2 separate regions of the Homo sapiens genome follow, and region 1 is linked to region 2. The links are contacts of gene promoters, found by promoter capture Hi-C in blood cells and fetal thymus (Javierre and others, 2016). All regions are on one chromosome and are shown on one strand. Each heading gives the region's core, a stretch centred on a gene start or on the middle of the fragment in contact. The rest is flanking DNA. Distances are from core to core; before and after follow the strand shown.

Region 1 (3,711 bases), core at 115-2,614, 570 kb after region 2:
GCTTTCACTTAATATTACGCATTTAAGATTGCTCCATGTCTTTTCATGGAGTGATATGATAGCTCATTTCATTTTAGCACTGAATAATATTCCATTGTCTGGATGTACCACAGTTTATTTATCCATTCACTTACTGAAGGACATCTTGATTGCCTTCAAGTTTTGGCAATTATGAATAAAGCTGCAATAAACATCCTTTTGCAGATCTTTGTGTGGACGTATGTTTTCAACTCTTTTTGGTAAATACCAAGGAACGTGATAGTTGGGTCAGGTACTAAAAGTATGTTTTTTTGAGACAGAGTCTTGCTCTGTCGCCCAGGCTGGAGTGCAGTGGCATAATCTCCCTTCACTGCAAGCTCTGCCCCTCGGGTTCATGCCATTCTCCTGCCTCAGCCTCCCAAGTAGCTGGGACTACAGGTGCCCGCCACCACGCCCGGCTACTTTTTTTGTACTTTTAGTAGAGATGGGGTCTCACTGTGTTTGCCAGGATGGTCTCGATCTCCTGACCTCGTGATCTGCCTGCCTCAGCCTCCCAAAGTGCTGGGATTACAGGCATGAGTCACTGCGCCCGGCCTCAAGTATGTTTGGTTTTAAGAGACTGCTATACTGTCTTCCAAAATGGCAGTATCATTTTGCATTTCTGCCAGCAGTGAAGGATAGTTCCTGTGGCTCCACATCCTTGCCAGCGTTTGGTGTCGTCACTGTTCTGGATTTTGGCCATCTAATAAGTGTGAAGTGACATATCGTTATTTTAATTAACTTTTGCCTGTTGACATATGATATGGATCATCTTTAAATTGTTTTTTATTTTTTTGAGACAAGGTCTTACTCTGTCACCCAGGCTAGAGTGCAGTGTAGCATGATCATGGCTCACTGCAGCCTCGAACTCCCTAGCCTGAATTGATGCTCCTGCTTCAGCCTCCCAGGTAGCTGGGACTATAGGCACATGCCACCATGCCCAGCTAACTTTTGTATTTTTTTGTAGAGATGGGGTTTCACCATGTTGCCCAGGCTGGTGTAGCATCTTTTCATATGGTTATTTTTTTTATCTACATATCCTCTTTGGAGAGGTGTCTGTTAAGATTTTTGGCCTCCTTCCCCCTTTTAAAATTGGGTGTTTCTGTTCTTATTGTTGAATTTTAAGAGTTGTTTGTATATTTTGGAGAACAGTCCTTTATCAGATGTTTTTTGCAAATATTTTTCTCCATTCCGTGGCTTATCTTCTAATTCTTTTGATAGTGTGTTTCACAGATCAGAAACATTTAATTTTAATGAAGTCCAGCTTATCAATTCTTCCCTTTGTGGATCATAACTTAGTCATATCTAAAACCAGTTGACTTGTAGTTTTTGGTTTGTCTGTCCCTCCTCCTTTTTTCTTTCACTGTAAACACAGACACACATGGGTGGGCATGTATATGGATATATAATGTATAGCCCCCTGATAAATAGTACCAAACTATCTGTACTATTCTGCCCCTTACCTCTTTCCTTAACAGTGTGTCCTAGACATCACTCCTCAGCAATATATGGATAGAATCTTCATTCCTTTTTTACAGTTGCATAATAATTAATGTATGTGGCTGTGTAATTGTTCATACTGCAAGTCCCTACTGATGGACATTTGGGTTGATTTTCATCATTTTTTGCTTCATAAATAATGCCATATATTTGTGTGTGTGTATATGTGTGTGTTTAAAACCAGAGTAATGTTGGAATAAAGTAGGTTTATTAATTCAAAGAGTAAATGCATGTATATTTTTCTCCAACATTTTATAATGAAATTTCAAACATATGGTACATTGAAAGACTTCTACCATAAATACCTTATACCAAACACCTAGATACTATCTAATGGTAGCATCCATTTACTTGCTTTCATCCATCCCTTCTATATTAACCCATTTTATTTTTGATGGATTTCAGGGTAAATTGCAGATATCTGTATTCTCTCCAAATACTTCAGCACACGTATTACTGAGAGTTTAATATTTGAACAGATTTTTTTTCTTTTGGCATAAAATTTGTGTACCATGAAATATGAAAATTGTAAGTATACAGTTGAATTTGATGAATGTGTATATCTCAGTAATCTAAAGCCCTAATGAGATGTGGAATACTAATCAGCCCAGCAAGTTCTCTTACACCTCTTCTTAGTTAATCCTTGACCCTGCATTTTTAGAGGTAATCACTGTTCTTGTCATGCTTTGTTTGACATTGATTTACAAGGGATTTTGAATGTGTTTTAAAGTAATGTGTTGAATTTGTTTCCTAAGGGACAATAGAGAAAAATTCTTTTTTTGGTGTATGTGTGTAGGAAATTTGCTTGAGAGATGTGCCACTATTAAAACTTGTTTCCTTTTTTGGTCTGGATTTCAGTTACTTACATGACATATTCTAATGTTTTTCTTTTCCGTAATTCCACAAGCACCCCTGCCACTTTGGAACAGAACTACATAGTCTGTGAGCTGCAGCAAAAAATAAGTGTGCTGTATTCCTTTTTGAGAAGCCATCTGAAGAAGAAGAGCATTGTATTTTTTTCCAGTTGCAAAGAGGTATTGGCTGTTTATTTTGCTTTCTGAACGTATGTTGAATGTCCCTTTTGAAATGGCAAATCAATTAGACAAATTATTATATTGTACGAGAAGTACAGTGCTAGGTGTGGTGAGGGATCTTTCGTGTCCTTGTTGCAAAGGAATCCGTGGCTGAGACTTTCAACTCCACAAGGACAGAAACTGTGTCTTTTCTTAGGTATTATGTTAAGTGCTAACAATACTGGAAATGTAGTCCTCAATAAATATTAGTAGAATGAATAATTGTTATCCAAGCTAAGCAGAGGTCTTTATAATCTGATACCTCCCTTACCCTCCAAGAATATGGGAATGAATATACCATTTATTTCCATGCCGTATATCTTTGTTTATGCTGATCTGTCTGGAATGCCCTCCCTGCATCTCTTCATCTAAATCTGGGGAAATACTTACTTTGAGGCTAAGTTCAAATGTTATGCCTGAAAGTCCCTTTCTGACACTCCCTTTTTAAAGAATCAGTTGTTCCCTCCCCTAACCTTCTGAAGTGTTTTGTTTATATCTTAGTTAATAAACACTTCTTGAACACTAGCCCTGTGCTAGGAATAAAGAATAAGGATTTCAGAGATGTCTAAGAGAACTTTGTCTCCTCTCTTAAGGAGAAGGGACTACGGTCTTTGTGCATGTGTGCGTGCGTGTGCCTCTTCTCCTGTACTATATTTCAGATTCCCAATGACTTAATAGGGAATGTAGTAGATCAATTCTAGATTTACAGCTTTTGCAATAACTTTCCATGATAAATATGTAGATGGGTTTCTCTCTAGCTTATGGGAAGTTAAGTGGTGATCTGATGCTGTTGTCTACTGAACCTTATTTTACCATGTAAAGAATGACTTCAGCCTTGGTGCGGTGGCTCACGCCTGTAATCCCAGCACTTTAAGAGGCTGAGGTAGGAGGATTGCTTGAGTCTAGAAGTTTAAGACCAGCTTGGGCAAGATGGCGACACCCTGTCTTTAAAAAAAAAAAAAAGACTTCAGTTTTTCAAGGACCGATTTTAGATTTTCAAAGCTTCCAGTCTCCTGGGAGCATTCCTCAAGGCAACTTGGAAGTGTATCCTGAGCAGTAGCCAACAACAAAACAATAAACTTCACATCTCCTAAAGAAGAGTTAGTTGGTTTTGGCATCT
Region 2 (4,058 bases), core at 1-2,500:
CAAGACCCCTTCTCTATATAAAATAAAAATTAAAAAAATTAGCATGGTGGAGCATGCCTGTAGTCCTAGCTACGTAGCTACTTGGGAAGCAGAGACAGGAGGATCCCCTAGCTACTTGGGAGGCAGAGACAGGAGGATCCCCTGAGACCAGGAGTTTGAGGCTGCAGTGAGATATGATTGCACCACTGTACTCCAGACTGGGTGACAAGAGCGAGACCCTATCTTAAAAAAAAAAAATACTCCAAAACATAATGGCCTAAAATAACAACCATTTGTTTTCTCTCGTTTCTGTGGACCATGAATTCAGACAGCATGGTGGGTATGGCTTGTCTCTGCTCCATGATGTCTGGGGTCTCAGCTGGAGTGGTTGAAGGTTGGGGACTGGAATCACCTGAGGCCTTTTTACCCATATTTGTATCTGGACTGAGCCTGGAATTTGATTGCTTCAAAATATTTTCACGGCTGGGTGTGATGGCTCACGCCTGTAATCCCAGCACTTTGAGAGGCTGAGTCTGGCCGTCTGCTTGAGCCCAGGAGTCAGCAACCAGCCTAGGCAACATAGGGAGACCTAGTCTCTACAAAAAAAAAAAAATACAACAATTTGCTGGGCGTGGTCGCCTGCGCCTGTAATCCCAGCACTTTGGGAGGCCGAGGAGGGAGGCTCACTTGAGTCCAGGAGTTCAAGACCAGTCTGGCCAACATGGTGAAACCCCGTCTCCACAAAAAATACAAAAATTATCTGGTTGTGGAGGCTTTCGCCTGTAGTCTCAGCTACTGGGATGGCTGGGGAGGGAGGATCGCTTGAGCCCTGATGGTCGAGATTACAGTGAGCTGTGGTCACGTCACTGCACTCCAGCTTGGGTGACAGAGTGAGACCTTGTCTCAAAAAAAAAAAAAAAAATCCTAAAATATTTTCATGAGTTTGTGCTGGGTAGGCCTAAGGGAAACATGCTCAGTAAATCGAAAAATCTCGGATTACACATAAACCACCGGCCCCGGCAGGTTAGACTTGGTGGACACGGGAGCCAGCAGCGTGTCAGGTGCTCGTTGACCCCAGCGCCAGTGTCTCCATCCACGTCCTTCACTCGTCAACCTTTCCTGGCCCAGGCTGCGGTGTCCCAGCGCCAGGCTCCGCCCCGCCCTTGGCTGCCGGCCAATCGCCGCCGACTGAGAGGCGACTATTGGAGGAAGCGGGATGGGCGGTGCCCGCGCCGGGCCGCTAGGGGTGCGGGGTTGGGGAGGAGGCCGCTAGTCTACGCCTGTGGAGCCGATACTCAGCCCTCTGCGACCATGGCTGTGCTGGCGGCACTTCTGCGCAGCGGCGCCCGCAGCCGCAGCCCCCTGCTCCGGAGGCTGGTGCAGGTGAGCGGGGTTCGTCCCCACAGCACTCAGACCCGGGATGCGAGGAGTCCCCGCCTCGGAAGCTTCCAGCCCGCGGCCGTTGCGGCTCCCGCGGCCCGGGCGCGCGGCTTAGGCCCCAGGACAGTCACGCGACGGGTTCTGGTCCAAAAACCGCCTAAGTGCTCCGATAACACCCAGGGACTCGCCTATTTTTACAGCGCGTTTCTACTTCCAAGGTCTCGGCGTAATCATCTTAATGAGCGTTACTGGTGTGTCAAACAAGGGCACGTGTCTGGGCGGGCAGGACCGCCAGGATTGGCGCTGGCCCGGCCTGAGCGGTGGGATCGGGGAGAGTCTCTTTGCAGGCCTGTGCAGCTGCTCCCGAGATTTTCTTTAAAACATATTTGTGTGCGTTATTGTCAGGAGAGGTTCCTTTTCTTTTTTAATACAATAGATAATCATTGGGCATACAAGGGGAGAGGGCACCATGTGATCATAACAGATGTTTTTTGGAGCAGCCTGAAATTTATCAGGGAAAACAAATGACTACTCAGATAATACAATAAATTATACTTGACATATGAGCAAAGCTCACATACTGAGGGCGTTCCAAGGGCTGTCGCTCTTCTGACCGTTGTGTTTAGGGAACACAGCAGGGGCAGAGTCTCAAAGAATTTATTCTCCACATGCGTAAGCAAGGGAGTACGCACCACAGATTGTCAGGCAAAGCCTCAGGAATAGGTAGAGACCTTCAGGGTGTGGTTGGTGAAGCTTGAGTTTTCTAGGTCGATGGGGGCAATAAGCTTGGAGATCCAGTTATGTTGTGAGTATGGACTTGACCCTAGTTAAGTAGGGATTGTTGATATGTTTGTTTTTGTTGCAATGGTAGGTCACTCTAGTTCTTACGTCTGGGCGTAGAATAACATTACTTGCACAAGGGTGCTGGCGGTAGGAGCTTTGCAAGAGATTGTAAAAGAACCAGTCTAGGACTTGACAATTAGGGAGTGAGGGTGCGAAGCCAAGGGAAAAGAAAGAGTCTAAAATTGATCCTGGGTGACTGAGATAATAGAAAAGTCACAAGGCGTAGGTTTCCAGGGAAGATGAGTTTTTAGCCTATTTGTTAGTCTCATGGGATGAGTGAAGAAATCACAAGAAAGTAATTAGGTTATCTTGGGTTTCAGTCAGTATTGACTAGGTGACATAGGTGAACTAGGTACTCTAGAGATGTAAAAAAAAAAAGTTCAGAACCTTCTTAATTTATGGTTTAATTAAGATCTTACAATCAGGTTGGTTGAGGTGGCTTATGCCAGTAATCCCAGCACTTTGGGAGGCCGGGGTGGGTAGATCATTTGAGGTCAAGAGTTCAAGACCAGCCTGGCCAACGTGGTGAAGCCCCACCTCTATTAAAAATACACACACACACAAAAATTAGCTGGGTGTGGTGGCAGGCGCCTGTAATCCCAGCTACTTGGGAGGCTGAGGCAGGAGAATCGCTTGAACCCGGGAGGAGGGGAAGGTTGCAGTGAGCTGAGATCATGCCACTGCACTCCAGCCTGGGCAACAGAGTGAGACTCCGTCTTAAAAAAAAAGATCTTAAAATGAAACACAAATACTCCTCATGAAAAAAATAAGCCTGTACATGCTGTAATGTATGATATGTGACATTCATATTACTGAACTCTAGGAAGCAGTTGTATTGGACACTTGAATTAAATGGTCATTTACTGAACTATAAACAGGATTTCCAGTTTTCTGTGCTATTTTGTAGAATGGAATTTGACCTCTCATTACATTGGCTCTTTTCCCTTTGCTTACCAGGTCTCTTTTATGGTCAACAAATCTTTATGGACTTTATTGGAGCACATTGCCTTTCTAGCTCTAATCACTTTTCTCTCTCTGGTCAAAGGAGTGGTCTTTACTCATTACCTCCCATGTATTCTGCATCTATTTCTCCTTAACTCTCTGCAGTTAAATTTCTTTGCCACTGAAGCTGAAAAATACAGTGATTTCCTTTTTCTTTGTTTTTTAATTATTTTTTTAAATCTATTTTAATTTTAGTTTTTGTAGACACGGGGTCTGGTTCTGTTGGCCAGGCTGGTCTTGAACTCCTGGCCTGCCAAAGTGCTGGGATTACAGGTGTGAGCCATTGTGCTCAGCCCAAGTTTTTTCTTCTTGACCTTTATCCTATATTTGACACTATTGACCACTCCCTTCTTGAAACTGTTTTGTGTTTTGATCCAGTTTTATTCAGCTTCTTTTAATACTCAGACTTAAAAAAAAATTCCTGTATTGTGCCAGTCTTGGGCTTATTTGCTCCCAGATTCATTTATCTTCCCTCCCCTAGTCTGTCTGCATTACTGTAGGCTGACCAATATCAGCTGGCTTCTGGCTGGGTGTAGCCACTGGAAGGCACCAGTGGAAGATTGGAAGATAGGAGGAAGGGAGAAGCCAGAATAATTTGTCTGTCTGTCTGTATCTGGCAGTGTCTGTCTCTCTTGTGGTTCCCGCTTCTGCTGGGATCCTGACCCCTTGGCTTTGGTAACCTTGCTTCTTCCCTTTGACCTAACAGCCTGTATGCTACTTCCTTCCTGTTGCTAATTTCTTTCTTTCTTTTTTATTTTTTGAGATCAAGTTTCGCTCTTGTTGCCCAGGCTGGAGTGCAGTGGCACGATCTTGGCTTACTGCAACCTTGGCCTCCCGGGTTCAAGCAGTTCTCC

Evidence for each region. The method cuts DNA at HindIII sites, captures the fragments that hold promoters and counts their contacts. A CHiCAGO score of 5 or more calls a contact.
Region 1: a fragment that was not itself captured here is called in contact with the fragment with the promoter of ACAT1 in region 2 in 5 of 17 cell types (naive CD4 T cells, activated CD4 T cells, total CD4 T cells and 2 more); the score reaches 6.3 in naive CD4 T cells.

The regions. Positions count from the first base shown.
Region 1 is chr11:108,686,511-108,690,221 of GRCh38, forward strand. It overlaps DDX10 (DEAD-box helicase 10), which reads left to right. Exons shown (of 18, transcript NM_004398.4): 7 at 2,426-2,552. Among named protein-coding and RNA genes, the nearest start is that of DDX10, 23 kb to the left of the region's middle. The HindIII fragment of the contact is 4,453 bases long and covers 1-3,591 here.
Region 2 is chr11:108,120,317-108,124,374 of GRCh38, forward strand. ACAT1 (acetyl-CoA acetyltransferase 1) reads left to right here and starts at 1,251. Exons shown (of 12, transcript NM_000019.4): 1 at 1,251-1,362. The coding sequence starts at 1,291. RefSeq lists silencers at 913-1,451, 1,053-1,462 and enhancers at 3,688-3,807, 3,868-3,927. The HindIII fragment of the contact is 9,706 bases long and covers 1-1,422 here.